Linked DNA regions of Homo sapiens: regions 1, 3, 4, 5, 6 and 7 are each linked to region 2. Evidence: promoter capture Hi-C in 16 types of primary human blood cells and fetal thymus (Javierre and others, 2016). All regions are on one chromosome and are shown on one strand. Each heading gives the region's core, a stretch centred on a gene start or on the middle of the fragment in contact. The rest is flanking DNA. Distances are from core to core; before and after follow the strand shown. Region 1 has its middle 74 kb from the start of LDLRAD4. Region 2 holds the start of CEP76 (centrosomal protein 76). Region 3 overlaps AFG3L2 (AFG3 like matrix AAA peptidase subunit 2). Region 4 overlaps CEP192 (centrosomal protein 192). Region 5 overlaps CEP192 (centrosomal protein 192). Region 6 has its middle 58 kb from the start of LDLRAD4. Region 7 overlaps TUBB6 (tubulin beta 6 class V).

Evidence for each region. Contacts are between HindIII fragments. The CHiCAGO score rates a contact against its expected background, and 5 or more counts as called.
Region 1: a fragment that was not itself captured here is called in contact with the fragment with the promoter of CEP76 in region 2 in 1 of 17 cell types (naive CD8 T cells); the score reaches 5.2 in naive CD8 T cells.
Region 3: a contact is called between a fragment that was not itself captured here and the fragment with the promoter of CEP76 in region 2, in 4 of 17 cell types (monocytes, M0 macrophages, erythroblasts and 1 more). The highest score is 7.0, in monocytes.
Region 4: a fragment that was not itself captured here is called in contact with the fragment with the promoter of CEP76 in region 2 in 1 of 17 cell types (M2 macrophages); the score reaches 5.7 in M2 macrophages.
Region 5: a fragment that was not itself captured here is called in contact with the fragment with the promoter of CEP76 in region 2 in 1 of 17 cell types (neutrophils); the score reaches 6.1 in neutrophils.
Region 6: a fragment that was not itself captured here is called in contact with the fragment with the promoter of CEP76 in region 2 in 1 of 17 cell types (neutrophils); the score reaches 5.1 in neutrophils.
Region 7: a contact is called between a fragment that was not itself captured here and the fragment with the promoter of CEP76 in region 2, in 1 of 17 cell types (monocytes). The highest score is 5.0, in monocytes.

Annotation. Positions count from the first base shown.
Region 1 is chr18:13,142,832-13,145,825 of GRCh38, forward strand. No RefSeq gene overlaps it. Among named protein-coding and RNA genes, the nearest start is that of LDLRAD4, 74 kb to the right of the region's middle. The HindIII fragment of the contact is 1,435 bases long and covers 840-2,274 here.
Region 2 is chr18:12,701,231-12,704,079 of GRCh38, forward strand. CEP76 (centrosomal protein 76) reads right to left here and starts at 1,493. Exons shown (of 12, transcript NM_024899.4): 1 at 1,256-1,493. The coding sequence starts at 1,318. It overlaps PSMG2 (proteasome assembly chaperone 2), which reads left to right and starts at 1,812. Exons shown (of 7, transcript NM_020232.5): 1 at 1,812-1,934. The coding sequence starts at 1,878. RefSeq lists enhancers at 638-1,535, 821-1,120, 1,131-1,180. The HindIII fragment of the contact is 2,487 bases long and covers 12-2,498 here.
Region 3 is chr18:12,327,856-12,330,682 of GRCh38, forward strand. AFG3L2 (AFG3 like matrix AAA peptidase subunit 2) reads right to left here. Exons shown (of 17, transcript NM_006796.3): 17 at 1,089-1,928. The coding sequence ends at 1,710. It also overlaps a transcript of TUBB6 not described here. Among named protein-coding and RNA genes, the nearest start is that of TUBB6, 21 kb to the left of the region's middle. RefSeq lists an enhancer at 1-560 and a silencer at 95-389. The HindIII fragment of the contact is 3,564 bases long and covers 1-2,827 here.
Region 4 is chr18:13,091,513-13,094,380 of GRCh38, forward strand. CEP192 (centrosomal protein 192) reads left to right here. Exons shown (of 45, transcript NM_032142.4): 34 at 865-1,015. Among named protein-coding and RNA genes, the nearest start is that of CEP192, 100 kb to the left of the region's middle. The HindIII fragment of the contact is 1,528 bases long and covers 489-2,016 here.
Region 5 is chr18:13,120,568-13,123,615 of GRCh38, forward strand. The region is part of intron 44 of CEP192 (centrosomal protein 192); the gene reads left to right. Among named protein-coding and RNA genes, the nearest start is that of LDLRAD4, 97 kb to the right of the region's middle. The HindIII fragment of the contact is 4,916 bases long and covers 1-3,048 here.
Region 6 is chr18:13,159,335-13,162,294 of GRCh38, forward strand. No RefSeq gene overlaps it. Among named protein-coding and RNA genes, the nearest start is that of LDLRAD4, 58 kb to the right of the region's middle. The HindIII fragment of the contact is 9,792 bases long and covers 1-2,960 here.
Region 7 is chr18:12,310,633-12,313,479 of GRCh38, forward strand. It overlaps TUBB6 (tubulin beta 6 class V), which reads left to right. Exons shown (of 4, transcript NM_032525.3): 3 at 311-421. Among named protein-coding and RNA genes, the nearest start is that of TUBB6, 3.8 kb to the left of the region's middle. The HindIII fragment of the contact is 5,042 bases long and covers 1-2,847 here.

The DNA of each region.
Region 1 (2,994 bases), core at 307-2,806, 440 kb after region 2:
TGTAAGAACCTGGATGCCAGGAACGGAGTGGAACCTGGAAGTTCAGCTTCCAACAGACAAACACAGTCAGAGCTCCCTTTTTAGAGTCCCTCCTGTGTAAACACACAGGGCATACAGGCATGACTTCCAGGAGCTTCACTGCAGCATGGCATGCACAGATAACACAACAGAAGTGACCTCAGTGCTGCTTTTGGAGGACAGATGACACGCATCTTGGTTCATGCAACTCAACACCGCACACATGTAAAATAGAATGAGTAGCTTTGTGTTGTGATATAAAAATGTAAGCTATATTATTGAGTGAAAAGCCAAATTGCCCACCAGTATGCAAAGCAGATTTACTCTTATTAGAAATGGAGGCTGAGCATGGTGGCTCACGCCTGTAATCCTAGCACATCAGGAGGCCAAGGCGGGTGGATTGCTTGAGGCCAGGAGTTTGAGATCAACCTGGGCAACACGGCAAAACTCCATCTCTACAAAAAATACAAAAATTAGCCTGGCCCAGTGGTGCATGCCTGTAGTCCCAGCTACTTGGGAGGCTGGGATAGGAGTATCAATTGAATACAGGATGTGGAGGCTGCAATGAACCAGGATCACACCACTGAACTCCATCCAGTCTGGGTGACAGCAAGATCCTGCCAAAAAAAAAAAAAAAAATCTAGCAGAGGACAGAGGAGTGTATACAGATAAACAAATGCATATTGTGTTTGCATCCCCTATATTAGTTTTCTATTGTTGCATAACAAATGATTACCCAAACACCAGGGGTTTGGTCTAGGTCCTGCTGCTCACAGCACAGAAAGCCAGTCATCAAGACAACCAGTATTGGCAGGGAAGAAAGCTTTAATCGGGTGCTGCAGCTGAAGAGATGGGAATTCAGTCTCAAGTCCGTCTCTCTGACTATCTAAAATTGGGAGTTTATATAGAAGGGAAGAAATGTAACTACATGCAGGAAAACAGTAATTAGGGAAGAATGAGGAAGAGGAGTTGGTCAACAGGCAGCAGGTGGTGCTCAGGCAATCATGAGGGTTGAGGGCCTGGCCACTCATCCTCCAGAGGCTGTGAGCTTGTAAGTTTCAGCTCCTTGATACTACCTGGGAGTCCTGATGGTCGGTTTCCTGAGAAAGGAACTCAGATAAGACAAATGTAACTTTCTCAAGTTTTAAGACTGAGAGGGTCAATTTCTATGTTTATTCAAAAGAAATGATAAACATCAGTTTTATGGGACAATTGGTCAGGTTTCAAAACTACCACAAACTCAGTGGCTGAAAATAATGCCTGCCTTTTTCTCACAGTTCTGTAGGTCAGAAGCCAGCACTGCCTGGCGGATTCTCTGCTCATGGTCTCAGGAGGCTGAAATCGAGGTGTCAGTCAGCTACATTCTCATCTGCAGCTTGGAATCCTCTTCCAAACTCATTCAGTATTTGGCAGCATTCAATTTCTTCTTGGCCATCAGCCAGGAGTCCCTGTCTCCTCCTAGAGGTTTCCCAGCTTCTTCAGCAGATCACAACATAGATGCGTCCTTTCCTGGTTGGTATCTGTGGGGGATTGGTCCTGGGTTCCTGGGACCTGTGCAGATAGCAAAATCAGCAGGTTCTCCTGACCTGCAGTCGGCCCTGCAGAACCCGTGGGTAGGAAGAGGCAGCATCCACTCTCCAGATCTGCGGGTTCTGCATTCCACAAATACTGTATTTTTGGTAAGTAGTTGGTTTAATCCATGCATGTGGAACCGTGGATATGAAGAGCTGACTGGGCTTGCTTTCTTCCAGACCAGCAGAGTGCATCAAACTCCAGGCTTCAAAGGGCTCATCTGAATAGGTCAGACCCACCCTTGATGATCCCTCTTTTGCTATAAAATGTGACATGATCAAAGGAGTGACATCTGATTCTACTTACAGGTCCATCCTCAAAATCTCAAAGGACCCCAAATAGCCAAAGCAATCTTGTAGGGAAAAAAAAAACTGGAGGCCTTACACATTCTGATTTCAAAACATATTGCAAAGCTATAGTGATCAAAACAGTATGATACTGGCATAAAGACAGAATAGAGTCCAGAAATAAACCCTCACATATATTGTCAAATAATCTTTGACAAGGCTACACAGTGAGGAAAGATAATCTCCTCAACAAATGTTGTTGGGGAAACAGGATATCCACATGCAAAAGAATGAATTTGGGCTCTTACCTTATACCATATACAAAAGTTACCTCAAAATGGACAAAATCCTAAATGTAAGATCCCAAACTGTAAAACCCTGAAAGGAAAGGGGAAAAAGCTTTATGGCATTGGAATTGGCGTTGATTTCTTGACTGTCACACCAAAACAGAAAATAGACAAATGGGACTATGTCAAACTTAAAAACTTCTGTGTGACAAAGGAAACAGTCAACATGGTGAAAAGGCAACCCACAGAATGAAAGAACACATTTGCCAGTCATTTATCTGATAACACGTTAATATCCAGAATTTATAAAGAACTCCTACAACTCAACAACAACAAAAAAACAAACATGCTGATTAAAAACTAGATAAAAGACTTTAATAGACATTTCTCCAAATAAGATACACAAATTGCCCACAAACGTATGAAAAGATGTGCAACATCATCATTAATCACCAGGGAAATGCAAATCAAAACCACAGTGGGATATCATCTCATGCCCATTAGGATGATCACTATACAAAATAAAAATAAAAAAAAAAACTAAAAAAAAAAAAAGTTTTGCTGAGGATATGGAGAAATTGGAAACCTGCATTGCTGCTGGGAATAAAAATGGTGAATGTTTTAGTCCATTTTTTGTGGCTATGAAGGAATACCTGAGGTTGAGGTTGGGTAATTTATAAAGAGAAAAGGTTTATTCGATTCACAATTCTGGATGGCTGGAAAGTGCAAAGCTGGGCATCTGCATCTGGTGAGGGCCTCAGGCTGCATCTACTCATAGCAGAAGGTGAAGAGCAGTCAGCATGTGCAGAGATCACATGGTGAGAGAGGAA
Region 2 (2,849 bases), core at 243-2,742:
GAACAAAGGTAAGCTTTTAAAGAATGAATCTTTTGAGTACAAATTCTAGAAATAGTCTCCACTGGTTATCTGGCACCTTTGTTACCATTTCTCCACAAACAACACTCAACCAAAAGGAATCTTCTGAGAGGGAGTATAGTATAATCAGAAGAACACGGACTGGGAGTAGGCAGATCAAAGTATGATCTTATTACTTTCATACTTTGATCTGCCTAATGATAAGGGAATCTTACCAGCTTTCAACTTAGTAGATGTGTAACCTCAAGCCAACTTATTTACCCTTTATAAATCTGTTTCGTCACCGATAAGAATGGAAAAACCTAGTGTAGTGCCCTCTCACGATAGTGTTGTGAGGATTAAAGATACTAGACAGCACAAAGCCTGGCACACAAGGGCACCATAAATGGTCGCTTTTATCACTTCAGCATCTTGCACTCAGTCGAGCGAGCGCTGCAGAAACTGGAGGTTCTTCTGGAGCTCCGAAATATTAACAAATTCCGTCATTACAAACCCTTTAGTAACTTCTCTTCCATGACTTATTTGAGAATTGCTGATTGAAGCTCCTGGTTCAACTTCGCTGATACCCACATGTTTCAGCGGTAAAGAAACCCTGATATCTGCCGGGCGCGGAGGCTCACGCCTGTAATCCCAGCACTTTAGGAGGCCGAGGCGGCCGGATCACGAAGTCAGGAGTTCGGGACCAGCCACACCAACATGGTGAAACCGTCTCTACTAAAAATACAAAAATTAGCCGAGCGTGGTGGCGCGCGCCTGTAATCCCAGCTACTCGGGAGGCTGAGGCGGAGAATCGCTTAAACCTGGGAGGCGGAGGTTGCAGTGAGCCGAGATCGTGCCACTGCACTCCAGCCTGGGCAACAGAGAGACTCCGTCTCAAGAAAGAAAAAAAACCTGATATCTTACAGCAGAATATAAACCTCCAAATACAACTTACACTCGATCCGACTTCCAGAAGTCGCTCGCTAAGCGCTTCATTCTCACGGCCGTCCTAAAACGCCAAGACCGCTCGTTCTATCGCCCCAGACTCTTGCTAGCACCTGCTCGGCTCGTTTTCTTTCTCGGAGACGAGGACGCTCTCCTGCCTCAAACTCAAAGCTCTGCCTACTCTGCGTTGCGCACCCCACAATCCTCGCTACAGTCCCGGCAAGCAGATGCCGCTGTCGGCCCGGGGCCGCCGGGCAGGAGGGAAAGGTTATGGGTCGGCCCGGCGGTCTCTCCCAGCACCCGCGACTCTCACCTTGCTCAGCTGCTGGTGGATGAGCTGCTTCAGCTCGGAGGCTTTCTCCGGAGGCAGCGACATGCTGGCAGCCGGCGTCTCCCCGCCGCTTCTCCCCGCCTCAGATGCCCTAACTGCGCGGCCCCGGCCGGGCCAGGGAGCGTTAGGAGCGACTGGAGCACAAAGCGCCGCAGCCGTTCGCCTAGCGCAGCTCCCGGGGGACGCAACGCCGCGTCAGGCCGGGGGCTGACCTGGAAATGAGGCCCCGGCGGCGGCGGCGCCAACTGTTTTCAAACAGTGGCGGACAAACAGGGCTTGGGGCTGGCCCGCACGCTGCCTGATCGTTTCCGCCCGCCGCTCCACCTCCCCGCGGGCCCCGCACCCCGAGACCTCAGCGCACCCCATCGCCTTGCTTGCCAGGGTCTCCGAAAGCGCTGCTGGCCCCTCTTCGCGGCCACCCGGCGGCCTCTTTCCGCCCTCTGAACCGGCAGTTAGCTGGACGGGCCTCAAGGGCCCGGCGCCCAGGGACTCAAAGGACCCTCCCGCGCCCCGCGAGGCTCCGGGGTCTCGGGCTTCCGCCTTCTTGCTGCCCTCGTTCTTGCCAGGGCCGCGGTTAGTCCCTGCTGGCCACCCCACTGCGACCATGTTCGTTCCCTGCGGGGAGTCGGCCCCCGACCTTGCCGGCTTCACCCTCCTAATGGTGAGTCTCCATTTGCGCTCGGGGCTGCCGCCTCCCGAGGCCCCTGCGGTGTCGCCACCCCGACGCGGGGTGTTTGGCGGTGCCTTGGGAGAAATAGGGCACTAGTTTCTATTTCATGTTTTCGGCCGGAAAAAACAGGGAGGTTGTAGCCGGAGGCAGCCGTCCAAACAGAACCTTTGTCGGCTGTAAAACCAAACGTAGTCAAGTCTACAATTTGTAGTCTCTGTTTCCTGTAAAACGTGATGTGTTCGTACGTTCTAGATACACTGTACTTATGTTTTGCAGGGCATCCTTCAGTTTTATCCTAGAAAGTCTTTCTACGACTAGTTTTAGAATTAGTCTTAAGCTAGCATATTATCGTTGTTAACCGGAGAACTACTGATAGGGCAATAAACATTAACTCTTGCCGGTAGTTAGCGCAGTTTTATCGCTCTTTATATTCATTCATTGTTTTAATAAAGTCTGTTATGTGCGAGTATTAGAATAAGACTAGGTGCGTGCCCTCAAAGAATTTACACTGTAGTTGGAAACATGTAATCTAAGAGCAATAAATGCTAGGCTAGAAGCTTGAAAGGGTATAGAAAGGTCCTGAGATAATTGGGAGGGGAGGGACAGATGGCTTGTTAAGAAAGGCTTTATAGAGAAAGTAGTATGCAAAAGATGGAGGGCCCGTGGGCTGGGAGTAGGGGAAAGTAGGCGTTTCAGAAAGATGGATGTCTAAAACAGAGTCAGTAAGCAGGGGGACTTGAAGACTGCCAAGAATTTGGAATGACACATTGAGAGAGAATAGGCTGTAGGCCCTGTGAACCCAGAAGGCACCATTGGAAAATGCACTGTTTGGAGTGGTATAAGGCTGGAGAGAGCTGGAAGTGTCATCCTTATTCATTACATATAAAACACACAGCCCCAGAGAAG
Region 3 (2,827 bases), core at 15-2,514, 370 kb before region 2:
AGGCCTGTGAGAGGGCAGCCCACGCTGGCTCCATGCCTTGCAGTGGTTGGATAAGGAGTAGAGAGCGTCTCCTAATCGTCTACTGCCTGTATGGTAAAAAGCACACCCAGCACCCTCACAACTGTGTGAGCCTCAGCCTGGAAACAATGCTTCATTGGGCACCTCCCAAAAACACCCTATGAGGAAAGGAAGTGGCCAGTGTGGCAATGCCTGCAGGTGCAAAGGTCCAGCAGGGGGCGCCTGTTCTCCTGGCATGCTGAGCTGTGGAGTCCAAACAGCTGCTTCCACGGCCTGCCGGGGACAGGTGGGTATCTCAGGCTGCTGGGAAGTAGCCATGGGTGGAGCATGCATGGCCTGGGGCCATGGCAGGGATGCCACTAGATTGTGTTAATTCTAAAGCCACTGTTCCGACAACATCAACACCACACAAGGCAAGCTGGAATAATGCTAAAACAGACTGCTAAAAATGTAAATAGTTAAAAATGCCAGTGTCTCCTCCATGTCCAAATAACAGCAATTGATAGAAGACATAGCAAATCTTCCTCATGCCATCTTTTTTAAGGAATTTTGATATAGGTTTGCAACACTACAGACTCACTTTTCTGGAAGCACATAACCAATAACTCCCTTTCAATAGACAATAGGAGCAGCTTACCAGTCAGACCACTCCTGAGATGTCCCCAGAGAGCCAGGGCCCAGGGGACTCCAGCTTAGTTCCACTGTTCCTTCTCTAAAATCCAGGTGACGGCTCAGGTCAGCCTGCCAGGCCCGCTACAGTTATACGTTAACTTCTATACCCAGAAGGTGTGGCCAACATCTGGCCATGACTGGCCTCTTGAGGACCTGCACTGGGGTGGTTATCACAGATTCAGGCCATGACTAACCCCTCAGGACCCATGTACTTTATATCCAGAGCTCAGTGCATCTTTACAGGACACATAACTCTAGAAGGTTCCAACCTCCTGTGGGAGCTAATGAGAACCAGCGAGGCTGAGATTTTGAAGGATTCTCCTCTAAAAAGCAAGAAAATTTAATTTCTTGCCATTATGTTTTCTAAAAATATCCAGAGCATAAATAGGGACCCTATGTGTGTTCAGAAAAGTACAGTGTTGACATTTTATTTTTTATGTAAAGAAGCCATATTTACATAATACATTCATATTTTTAAGTATGTTACAGCTCCTGTAGAAAACCATTCCATTAAGACAGCAACAAGTGATCTGGATTCAATCTTTAAAATATTAAGTCAAATTAAAATGTTCTTATCAAGACTCCAATTTAATTTCACAGCCCATCTGCACAGGGGAACTGAGGAGAAACAGGAATGAAGAGTGGGCGACAAAGAGAAAGCATCCCTTCCCACACGCCAAGAGTCCAGTGCAACGATCCCTGCCACACGGTCAGCCGACCCCACTTGGTGCCACAGGGTCCAGCCTCGGCCACTCTGGGCTCAACCTTTCCAGCACGTCTGGGAGCCCAATGAGGCTATGGGACAGTGTGCATTTCCCTCAAGGCCTCCGGAAAGTCACCTGCCACCCACTGTGACCTCTGAGGCTGAAAGGACTAAGGACTCCTTTCCCCATCATTTCAGCTGGGCCAGTGGCTGGCTAAAATCAGCGCAGCATTCCCATTCTTCTGAAAGCCACAGCTGAAATAATGCACCAGCTGAAACCACAGTGGACAGACTGAGATGGCCTCCCTCTGGGCCTCTAGTTGGCAACTTTCTCACCCGGGGGCTCCTCTTTCTCCTTTTCCCGCTCCTTGTTCCAGTCCTTAAGGCCTTCTGGAAGTGAGGTGTCCTCATCCAAGCTGCCAGTGCCTTCCACAAATTCTTCATAGGTAGATTTTTCCGCAAATGGTCTGGGGCCCAAAAGTTCAACCATATCATTCTTATCTAATACTTCTTTTTCTAACAACAGAAGAGCAACCTGAAATATGAACAATTTTCATTAAATACAGTTACTCAGCAAAGTCTATTCAGAAATATTAATTTTTTATTTACAGGTGACCCCATTCCAAAAAAGGATTTAAGACCAATGAAAAAGATGTCTCATACATAAGGTTGCATAGTTTTAGAGTAAGATGTGCAAAATATCAAAGCAACCAATGTCCATCTGTAAGGGATACATTTCCATACTAGACATATTTCCACACATCTGCACAATGAATGCTGACCATCTATAATGAGGAGGAAGCTGGCCGGGCGCGGTAGCTCGCGCCTGTAATCCTAGCACTTTGGGAGGCCGAGGCGGGTGGATCACAAGGTCAAGACCATCCTGGCCAACAGGGTGAAACCGTGTCTCTACTAAAAATGCAAAAAAATAGCTGGGCATGGTGGTGTGCGCCTGTAGTCCCAGCTACTTGGGAGGCTGAGGCAGGAGGATCACTTGAACCCGGGAGGCGGAGGTTGCAGTGAGCCAAGATTGTGCCACTGCACTCCAGCCTGGGCGACAGAGCGAGACTCCTTCTCAAAACAAACAAACAAAAAAAAATAGGAGGAGGCTGTGTATGTTCTATATACATCTCAGAGATACACACTTCAATTAAAAAAACAAGATGTTCAGTGTGCACAGCATCTTACGTTTGCTTTTCTGAGGTGATAAGAATGTATCTTTTTATGTGCATTAAAGCAGAATAGGCAGCCAAGTGCAGTGGCTCACACCTGTAATCCCAGCACTTTGGGAGGCCGAGGTGGGCGGATCACCTGAGGTCCGAAGTTCGACACCAGCCTGGCCAAAATGGCAAAACCCCGTCTCTACTAAAAATACAAAAATTAGCCAGGCGCAGTGGTGGGTGCCTGTAAGCCCAGCTACTCAGGAGGCCGAGG
Region 4 (2,868 bases), core at 3-2,502, 390 kb after region 2:
AACATTTGCTTGAGCATGTTACTATTCCAAGGATTTGTAACAATCTTGCTTTTACAAAATGTGTAATTTGTGGCATGTATTTTTGTAGTTGATTTAAACTTTTTCAGTCAGGAGTCTTGCTTAAGTTATAAATTTAAATTTATAGTTACTGTGTTCTTTTAAAATTTCCATGTCAAAATATATGACTCAAAGACTATCTAATTTAACATTTCTTGTTTATACAAATTTGGGTGTCCTAATCTAGAGATGTTTATCTTGAACACTCTTTCATTAATCTATAAATATTTAATTAAATGAATAGTTCTAGTTTCTAGATTTACTTTAAATTGAATGTCTATGAGACTGCCACTTAAAAATCATGGACCCTTAATTTCTGTGCTTCAGATTTTTCCTCTTTGCAGTAGAGGTAATAGTACCTATCTCAAAGAATTGTTTTGAAAATTAACTAAATTAATATATATAAAGGGATTAGAACAATGTCCACATTAAGCTTCATATAAATGTTTGTTGCCGAATATATCTACAAAGGCATTCTTATTTTAATGCTCACAACCCCTGATACAGATCGTTACTCTATATTATAGTTGGGGAAACTAAGTTCAGGGAGGTTAAGTAACTTGCCAAAAGTCACAAAGTAAATGAGTGGCAAAGGTAGTTCAAATTCAGGTTCCAAGTCTGAGCTGTCAGCCACTGGTGCTGAATTGACTGTAATTTTGTGCCAGGTGGTATACTGCTAATCCAAATGTCACCTCCCCCAACCCAGGAAACTAATATTCTATAGCTATAAATATACAAATGTATCTGTTACTTTGTGGTATGCTTGTGTGAACATTCATGTATTTCAAACATTATTTTCTATTTCAGTATATGATCTTCCCCAACGACCTAATGATGTTCAGCTCTTTTATGGAAGCATGTGTAAAATTATACTTTCAGTAATTGGAGAATTCAGAGATTGCATTTCTAGCAGAGAATTCCTTCAGCCTTCTTCCAAAGCTAGCTTGGAATCTACAAGGTAAAATAAATGAACAGAAATCTTTCACCAGATTTCAGGATGATTCGATTCATAGCAAAGCTGATCTTTTTTCCTGTACTTCACTATTATTATTATTTTGTCTCAAAATTTTTATTTCACCTTTATTTTAAAATTTAAGTTGAAATAATTTCAAACTTTCAGGAAAGTTTAGAAATAGTGCAGAGAACTCCCATATACTCTGCACTCAGACTCACCGTTGTTAACAGTTTACCACCTTTACCTTATCATCCTCTATTTGTATGGAAGGTTTTTCTGGACCACGTAAGAGTAAGTTTCAGGCATGATAACCAATTAGCCCTAAATTTCCTAAAAACACTCTCCTACGGCCAGGTATGGTGGCTCTTGCATGTAATCCCAGCACTTTGGGAGGCCAAGGCAGGCGGATCACGAGGTCAGGAGATCGAGATCATCCTGGCTAACACAGTGAAACCCCGTCTCTACTAAAAATACAAAAAAAAAAGTTAGCCAGGCGTGGTGGTGGGCACCTGTAGTCCCAGCTACTGGGGAGGCTGAGGTAGGAGAATGGTGTGAACCCAGGAGGCAGAGCTTGCAGTGAGCCAAGATGGGGACATTGCATTCCAGCCTGGGCAATAGCAAGACTCTGTCTCAAAAACAAAACAAAACAAAAAAACACTCTCCTGCATAGCCATGGAAAACTCATCCAAATTAGGACATTTAATAGCAATACACTACAATCATTTAGTCCACAGGTTCCATCCACATGTTATTGTTTGTTCCAATAATGTCCTTTATGTTATAGTTAAATGACAAAACAACAACAAAAATAACCTTCCTCTTTGCTGCTTCCTCTCTGGTCCGGAGTGTAATCTAACATCACATGATGCATTTGGTTATCCTATCTGCTTACTCTCTTTCAGAATAGAGTTCCTTAGCCTTTCCTTATCTTTCCTGACTGAGATGATACAGAAGGTTCAATTATTGTATCAGATCCACAGAATCAAAGACTTCATCCAGAATTAAGCTTACTAGTAATTTTAGGTGAAGCCTGGAGAAGTCTGGGACTGGCAGTGGTGCTTCCTAGGTCCTTTTGGCAGCATTAATACTTGAGCTCTTGTTCAGATTTGACACAAGGTCTCTAAATTGTTCATGTGCTACATGGCTTACCCGAAATGAAGAGCTATATTGAGCATGAAAGTTCTGTTTTGTACTTTGGTAATTACATAACTTATGTGGTAATTTTTCAAATAACTGCATCCCATAAAATCGGAAGCTTCAGGTTTCTTTACCGCAAATAATTCTAGACAGAGCAGATACATCTTGCAAAAAGCATTCCATAGATAAGGACATTAGTGTGTGTGCTAGGAGATCTGTCATTAGCAAGATCACCGGGAGATTTCACCAAATCACCTTTCTTTTTTCTTGAGCATTCCCTGGTAAAAAGGAGAAAATAGATTGCAGGCCAATTGCTAACTCTTTCTTACCAATGACCTTGATGTTTTTATGGAGTCCAGGCCAGTTACTTTGTAAAATATCCCGCAATTTCAGTTTGCAGATTCAATTTTCACACTTTTGGTAGGAATGATGCTGTTTGTTTTCTTGGTGCATCTTCTCAGGCAGTGTACAGTGCTGATTTGTCCTATCACTAATACTATTTTCATCACTTAGTTAAAAATGGTGCCTGCCAGATTTCTCCACTGTAAAACTAATGAATATCTTAAGAGGGAGTTCTTTAAAGATCATGATTATCTTGTTCCTCATCAAACTGTGAGCATCCATTGATGCTTGTTGCCTGAATTATTTTCATCATGGTTACCAAAGGGTGATTTCTAATTCCATCTTTCTGCATTTATTAATTGGCTCTTTACTATGAG
Region 5 (3,048 bases), core at 417-2,916, 420 kb after region 2:
AAAATAGTATTGCAAGGTGCATAGTTTATACTCTGAACATATTTAAATCTTTTAAAACTTTAATGCTTTGAAGATAAATTTGAATGAAATAATTTTATACTCTATTAGTGGCGGACACTTAAGTTATTCTGATTATGGTGAGTTTCCAGAAAGTCTGCATCGATATTAACTATCACTATAGGACTACAGGGTAAATGCATAATAGTACTGATTTCAGCAATAGCTTTAATAGCAGCAGTTCATTGTAAATTTGGTAAAGTATGAGTAAGAAAATCATGTGTATAAAGCACTAATTCTGTGATCTGTTTAACTAAATGAACTAAACTCTGGGTTATAGGAAACTTTATTTTACGCAAAGAAAGGTGGAAACACTGGCTCCTTTGTAACAGAGAATGACCTGTGTTGACCTTGGAGAAGCAGCAGGACAGTAGAGGCAGATACCACAGGAACCCCAGTGACAGTTCTTACCACAGAACTGAAGTCATGGGGACTTACGGCATTGTGTGCTATTGTATTTGTCCCAGACACGAGACACTGTGACTTTAGACAAAGGTTCACAATACATAATTGCCAGATGAGAGCAGCAGTTAGCTTGCCTTGGCAGTGCAACAAAATCTGTGTTCTTAAAGCCCTGAGAAGCAATTCCCAGCCTTTAGTTAATCACATTTTTCATTTGTTAGATCACTGTGTGCTCTATGACACCATTAACTACACATTTCCAAAGCAATAATAGGATTGTAGTCATCTGTAGGGTACAGGAGATGATTACTTACAAATATGCACTTTTTCCAAGGCCACCGGAAGGCCTGGTGGGGCTGCTCTCCGAAAGCTCCAGCACTAGCACAGGAAAGTGGCTGCTCCTTACAGGCTGTAAGCTGATTCTAGCTTAAGGAGGCAGAAGAGTTCCCCCAAGAAGGTACAGGGGTTTTGCTCAGTGCAGAGGTGGGTGAACACGAATGTATGATAGATTATAAGTAAGGTTATAGGGAAAAGGAAACATTACTAACAGGTTTTCTTGTAAAGGTTCTTTTTTGAGGGTTCTGAGAGATCATCTCTTTCTTATATCTTTTTTAAAAGAATTTATGTTTCTACTTAGTCCCCAAAAGCATCTTTCTCTTAACCTATTATTTTATGACCATCTAACCCCAGCTGAGGTGTTGTAGCTAATAGGTTCCACCTCAACTGTGCCCTCATGTCCTTGCACAGTGCAAGGTGCACAATCCTGGCAGACCCTGCATGTCATTTGGGAGAGAAGGACAGTTCCTAGAAAAGTGACAAGCCAAGGAATAGAGTTATCATTGAGCTGCAGTGACTTCTCACCCATGTGTGGGAACAAATTTTATTACCTTTTTCAGTTTCTTTGATAATGGTGGTACCTTGTATGTGCTAGTGTACTGGCTTTTTTTCTGTGGAAACTGTTCCTTTAAAAAAATGTTTTGGGCCGGGCATGGTGGCCCATGCCTGTGATCCCAACATTTTGGGAGGCCAAGACGGGCGGGTCATCTGAGGTCAGGAGTTCAAGATCAGCCTGGCCAACATGTGAAACCCTGTCTCTACTAAAAATGCAAAAAGCAGGCCAGGCGCGGTGGCTCATGCCTGTAATCCCAGCACTTTGGGAGGCGGAGGCGGGTGAATCACGAGGTCAAGAGATCAAGACCATCCTGGCCAACATGGTGAAACCCCGTCTCTACTAAAAATACAAAAATTAGCTGGGCAAGGTGGCGCATGTCTGTAATCCTAGCTACTCAGGAGGCTGAGGCAGAAGAATCGCTTGAACTTGGGAGGCACAGGTTGCAGTGAGCCGAGATCGTGCCACTGCACTCCAGCCTGGCAAAAGAGCGAGACACCGTCTCAAAAAAACAAAGTAGCCGGGCCTGGTGGCATATGCCTGTAGTCCCAGCTACTCAGGAGGTTGAGGCAGGAGAATGGCTTGAACCAGGGAAACAGAGGTTGCAGTGAGCTGAGATCGTGCCACTGCACTCCAGCTTGGGCGACAGAGCGAGAATCCGTCTGAAAAAAAAAAATGTTTTGAAAGGAAGGAAGGAAGTGTGGTTGCTAGAATTTGTAGGTTCCACTAAGCCCTTTCCATGTAGATGGGGCCTGCAGGGAGTTGGGGGCTGAGTGTGCACAGCCTGATGGCCTCTCTGCTCCCTAGATGCATTTCTGCTCTGCGTGCCTTTGCAATTACATCTATCATTAGCTAGAGAGAGGATCTGAACTAGACCTCCCCACTGGGTTCAGAGGACTTTCCTGCTACCTTTTCCCGTGTGTGTGTGTGTGTGTGTGTGTGTGTAGAGATTAAATTAGTTCTCAATAATAGTATTACAAAGTACTTTTTAAAATATATCCATCTTGCTGGGAGTGTTCTATAGCTGTATTAAATGTTGTGGTTCTTTCTAAATTGCATTCCATTTTATTCAGTGTATCTGTAAATCTAAAGCAGATGATATATTTTTAATCACAATATACTTAAATTTTCAGGTTAATATAGAACAATTCTATATTCTGTGATGAAATTTATTAATAATGAGTTCTTCCAGAGATTTTTTTGGGGCTATTTTATTATTTTTACTAATTCATAAGTTATAAAGCCTCTTAAATAGGCAAATGGTACTATATTTATCCAAGTATTGACCACCAACATGCAAGAGAAAATTGTAGCTAATGCCATGGGCCAGGTTAGATTTTTTTTAAAAAGTACATTATCTTTGACATGGTAAAACAAATGTAATGCATTTGGGGAAAATAACCCAGACTTTAAATAAAAACATATAGAGATACACATACACACCTTTGCTCTATATAGATATATTTAAGAACATACACTATTTGTGTTATCAGTTATATCCAGGAAAAGGGCTTTGAAATACTGAAGCTGTTTTCTAAACCTCATGCCCGGTGTACTCTTGTGCACCCAAGAGCGACACTGCTGGGATTTTCAGGACAGATGCTGGAAACCGAAACGTACATCACTTCTGGTTGCCAGTCTTTAAAACACACAGCTCTGAGACGAGACTAAGGGGTGAAGTACCTTCCCTGTGAGCTCAG
Region 6 (2,960 bases), core at 230-2,729, 460 kb after region 2:
TCTTTAAGAGAAATATTTGAAATTATTTTTGAGGTAATTCATAGACCTCTATTCATTTAGAGTCAGTTTCTGGAGATTTATTTTGTTCCTTTGATTCAACCATGTTTTCTTGCTTCTCCATGGGTCTTACTATTTTATGCCGTGATTTGTGCATTTGGAAAACCAGCCACCTATGGCAGTCTTTTAGGACTAACTTGATAAAGGGAAAACTTTCACCAATCATCTGGGTTGGAGATTCCAGAAGCCTCTCAAACCTTTGGGATGTGTTCTCTCTGGGCGTGTGCATGTCATTTCCCAGTTAGAGGGGTTTTCTGGTTTCTTTTTCTGGAGCTTGTAATCTCTTACTCCCTCTGGTGTCTGTACGAAGTATTGCAGGTTCTTTGGAGCTGCAAGAAGCCACTGAGCTCTTTTGTTCTCTGTGGCTCCCAGGATATCCAAAGTATATCAGCTCCATCAGTGATCCAATTCAAGTGAGACAAAAACCGTTGCCTCAGGCAGCCCCTGAAAATTAGACTGTTGGACACATGCTCCAGTCTTCTCTTTTTCCCTTGACGGAGAAGCTGTGAACGGGGTGCTTTCTGCTGATTGTGCTGCTTTGAGGAATGGCTTTTGGGGTTGAAATAAAATGGCTTTTGTTACCTTTTTCAAAGTGGCTGTTCTGGCTTTGAGTTTGCCTGGGGTGCTGCCACTTCTTAAATGGTTTCTGGAGTTCTCATGCAGACTTTTTGGACCATATATTGTTAAGTCAGTGTCTTGGGAGGAATGACACTTGAGGCGTCTTATTCCACCATGTTGGTGATGCCACTTCCTTGTGGTGACTTATATGACAGCAATAGAAAACAAATATGAGCGTCACAGGGAAGCAGTGAATAAAATTCACATGGTGAAGAGCTAGAGGACCACTGCTTCTAAGGAGTCATGTCCTTCGCAGGCCTGAGCCTCATCCCCTTCCTTCACTGTGAACAGAGAAATCGGCCAATTGCCAAACATACACTGAGTGTCTCTCTTGCATAAAGTGCTGCTGACCAGTGTTCTAGGGGTCCCAGTCTATGCGTTCTGGCGGTGGCACTCTTGTTGGGGATGCAAAGGGTCCCCAGTTGTTGCAGTCACTGGGTGAGAGGTGTCCCAATGTGGGGATGAAGGAAGGGCCTGTGGCCTGATGCAGGCAGGGGAGGCACCATCGGAGGGCAGGGCTTGAGCCAGCTGCTGGGGGACTCCAACAGTGCAGGAATGGGAGGAATATTCCAGGGCGGGATGCGAGAATAGGAAGTGATGTGTGTGTGTGGCAGGGGTGGTAAAATATACACCTCATACATTTACCATTCTAACCATTTGTTTTTTTGTCTTTTTTTGAGACGGAGTCTCGCTCTGTTGCCCAGGCTGGAGTGCAGTGGCAACATCTCGGCTCACTGCAAACTCCGCCTCCCGGGTTCATGCCATTCTCCTGCCTCAGCCTCCCGAGTAGCTGGGACTACAGGCGCCTGCCACCGCGCCTGGCTAATTTTTGTATTTTTAGTAGAGACGGGGTTTCACCATGTTAGCCAGGATGGTCTCGATCTCCTGACCTCGTGATCTGCCCGTCTCGGCCTCCCAAAGTGCTGGGATTATAGGTGTGAGCCACTGCGCCCAGCCCATTCTAACCATTTTTAAGTGTCCAGTTCAGTGGTGTGAAGTGAGATGTGTTTTTGAGTAGGAAGTGGTTTATTTTGGCAAGGGTAATCCAGGGTTGGCTCTTTCAATGGCTAAAGGACTAAAATCCTCTCAGAGAAAAAAGTAAAAGGGCTGCTTACCAGGCAGTAAATCCTTAAACAAGTGTGCATTGCTTACAGTATTGGCTAAGGAGATGATAATTTGACTTGAATAATCTTGCAAAGTGAGATGAGATCCCCACTTCCCAGATAAGGAAGCTGAAGGTCTGATTAAGTGACCTGCTCCAGTTGCACAGGAGGTGGGGGCATATCCAGTACCAGAGCCCAGGTCTCTACATCCTTCCTCTAGGCCTCTTTTCTCTCCCCCTTGATGGCTGGCCTGCCCCCTAGACCGACTGTTTCTTGGTCTGTGTACAAAAGTACCTTCCGAGGAGAATGCAGGGTGCCAGAGGTTAGCGGCAGGGAACAGCAGTGTTTGGACTCCAAGCTACGGGAGCCACGCATTCTGTCCTCAGGGTATCACCACCCCATTCTAGACACCAATGAGGACAGGGCTTAGCATGTCGAGACGAGGGGTTTGAATTTCATGTTTGTGTGCGTTCCGTTTGTTGGGAGGCACTGTCCCTTCAGTGTTGTCATTCATAGTGACACCCTCTGCATGGTGCTGGTTGCCAGAGGCAACCTGGAGCCCTGGAGTCAGCATGTCACCGTTGGCACATGGTGCATGGGGAATCACAGAGAGAGTGAGCTGCCTGCTGGCTCAAATACCCTGAGTCATAAAAAGGTCTCAAGAATAGATCTTGGGTGTCCGGGGGATGCGTGGCTGTTCTGTAAGAGCTGAGATGACCTCGAAGCCTTGTGAGCACGGGCTCCTTGGGACCCCTTTGTGGAACCATGCAGCGGGACGTGAAGTCAGCCTTTCCTTGGAGCCTGACCCTCTCAGCTCCAAGCAGCCTCCCCATGGCAGTGTACTCAGGTCTGTCTGTCCAGTCATAGTGGGAACCCTGGCTTTGAAGGGGGTGCAGAGTCCACGTGGCCCAGATCTCTCCCTAGGGAAATAATCCCCTCCCTGCCTCCCACGGGGGTCTTGGCCTTTGGCCAAATAGTCCCAGGAGTGAGAGACCCACTTTTGGAAGGCAAGCATTTTTTATGTTGGGTGATAGCTATTATCTATCATCACCATCCTCTTCTCCGCCTCCACCTCTTCCTCCCACCCCCCAGACAGCCAGCACCACCCCGTGCCTTGCAGCGCTGAAGGCTCTGCCTAAATCACACATCCCAGGAGGTGGAGGCAGTGGGGAGGGCTGAGGG
Region 7 (2,847 bases), core at 33-2,532, 390 kb before region 2:
ACTTAGCTAATTTTCTTGGTTTTTTGTTTGTTTGTTTTTAGAAACAGGGTTTTGCTCTGTTGCCCAGGCTGGTCTTGAACTCCTGGGCTCAAGCGATCTGCCCACCTCAGCCTCCCAATGTGCTGAGATTACAGGGATGAGCCAGTGCGCCCAGCCAATTCTGTGATTCTAAGAAAGTTCCTGTACCCTTTCTGAAAAGACCCTGGTTGATCCATTCCAGGCAGCTAGAACTGGTGGGACTTGAAACGGGGAAGTCAATTACTTTAGAAACCTGAAAGTAACTCTTGTGGGTGGTTCTTTTCTCCTCCAGCTCAGAAATATGTGCCCAGGGCCGCCCTGGTGGACTTAGAGCCAGGCACCATGGACAGCGTGCGGTCTGGGCCTTTTGGGCAGCTTTTCCGGCCTGACAACTTCATCTTTGGTAGGTTCCATCTTTCTCACTTTCTTCTTCTTCTTTTATTTTTTTAAATCAAATATTTTATATGCCAGATTTAAAGCATCATGTGTCATAGAAAAAGTGTGAATGGAAATCAGTGGTTCCCAGCCCCACCCCTCCCATCCCTAGCTGGGTTCATCACAAGGAACAGTTTTTTTTAAATCTTGACTTTTTTGGTGGGAAGGAACCTCTATATCTCTAAATGAAATTCTTCTACTGGTAGTTCTTGATTAAAAAACAAAAATCAAGCCAGGCGCGGTGGCTCATGCCTGTAATCCCACCACTTTGGGAGGCCAAGACGAGCGGATCACGAGGTCAGGAGATCAAGACCATCCTGGCTGACACGGTGAAACCCTGTCTCTACTAAAAATACAAAAAATTAGCCGGGCATGGTGGCACGTGCCTGTAGTCCCAGCTACTCGGGAGGCTGAGGCAGGAGAATCGCTGGAACCCGGGAGGTAGAGGTTGCAGTGAGCTGAGATTGCACTACTGCACTCCAACCTGGGTGACAGAGCGAGACTCCATCTCAAAAATAGCAAAAAACAAAAAAACAAAAACCAAGAAACAATTTTAGACATTAGCTTCTTTTTCCCCATCATTATAAAGTTATTTTGCCATTTGTTTTTGGTTCCTATATTGGTTTTATCAGAATTAGGTAAATCCTTTTTTTCTTGCTTCTTCCACCTAAAAAATGATAGTAAAACATATCTTTCTGCAGACTTCTGAAGAAAATTATATAAAATTACATGAAGTGGTACCATTAGTGTTATCAAGTAGAACCTACAGGATAGGTGGCAGATTTGGAAGTTTCCCACCTATTTTAATGTTAGAGACCACATATCTATTGACATTATTGCTAAAAAAAAAAATTCCTCACTCAATCAAACATATTTCCAATACCTGTGAAAAGCAGTGTCTTCCAAGAAAATGTGAAGAATTTGAAGACTGATTCTGGCTTAAAAGCACTATGGTGTAGGAATCAAATACATCATGAAAAATCTACATTCTAACCCCTTTCTCAAAAGGCACCAGGAAGAGATAGTTTAATAGAGGGTAACAGACAATCCCATTATCCAAACCATTCCAGAGAGAAAATGATGGAAAACTTCCCAACATTTCCTATGAGGCTAGGTAGCTTCTACTAGAACATACAAGTGAAAGCTGTATATCAAACTTACTTAAAAATATAGATGCAAAAATCCAAAATAAAATACTTAGAATATCAAATGTAGTTGTGTTTTTTAAAAAATATATTAATAGCACATTGTGACCAAGTAAGACTGAGAGGCAGACAGTGTAATGGTTAGGAGTCTGGCTGTGCTGCCAGACTCCCTGGGTTTAAATTTTGGCCCTTCCACTCACTATGTGGCCTTAGACTTATTTAACTTACTTGTGACTTAATTTCCTCATCACAAGTGGGACTGTCTACCTCTTAGTGAGATGTAAGGATTAAATAAACACTTAGAATGTCTAGTACAAAATAAGTGTTTGAGAAATACTAGCAACATCCCAGGAATGCAAGGATGGTTCAACATTAAGAAGTCTACTAATAGATTAAAGACAACATCTTAATAGATGACCCAAAAAAGTGGGTTTTTTTTCTGACTCCCAGCAGGAAACAATTTTTTAAAAAAGATTAAAGTTTTGGAAGCCAGGAGCAGTAGCTAACGCCTGTAATCCCAGCACTTTGGGAGGCCAAGGCGGGCGGATCACCTGAGGTCGGGAGTTTGAGACCAGCCTGACCAACATGGAGAAACCCCATCTCTACTAAAAATACAAAATTAGCCCAGTGTGGTGGCACATGCCTGTAATCCCAGCTACTCGGGAGGCTGAGGCAGGAGAATCACTTGAACCCAGCAGGCGGAGGTTGGGGTGAACCAAGATCGCACCATTGCACTCCAGCCTGGGCAACAAGAGTGAAATTCTATCTCAAAAAAAAAAAAAAAAAGATAAAGTTTTGGATGTGTTCCTGATTTGTAGAGGACAAAAAAACTTCTATGTAAGCTGGAAGTAGAAAGAAACTTCCTTTATTTACAGATTATCTACCAGAAACCCATAGCAACATTACACTCCCTGGTGAAACAGAAGCATTTCCAGCAGAATTAGGTATAAGAAACAGATGTCCATTGTCTCTACAATTATTCCATGTTCTGAAGGCTTTAGCCAGTGCACAAAAACCAGAGAAAGAAAAAATGCAAATCATGTAAAGGAAAAGACAAAAGTGTTATTTGTTGATGAAATGATTCTCTTGGAGTTTCCAGATAGGCTATCAGCTGAAAAATGACTAGCACTTACAAGACTTCAGTAAGGGAGCCAGACACAAGATAAAATATTCAGAAATTAATAGTTTTGCGATCAGGTTACCAATCTTTCTGATTTGCCTGGAACTGGGAGGTGTTCCCCAGGACACT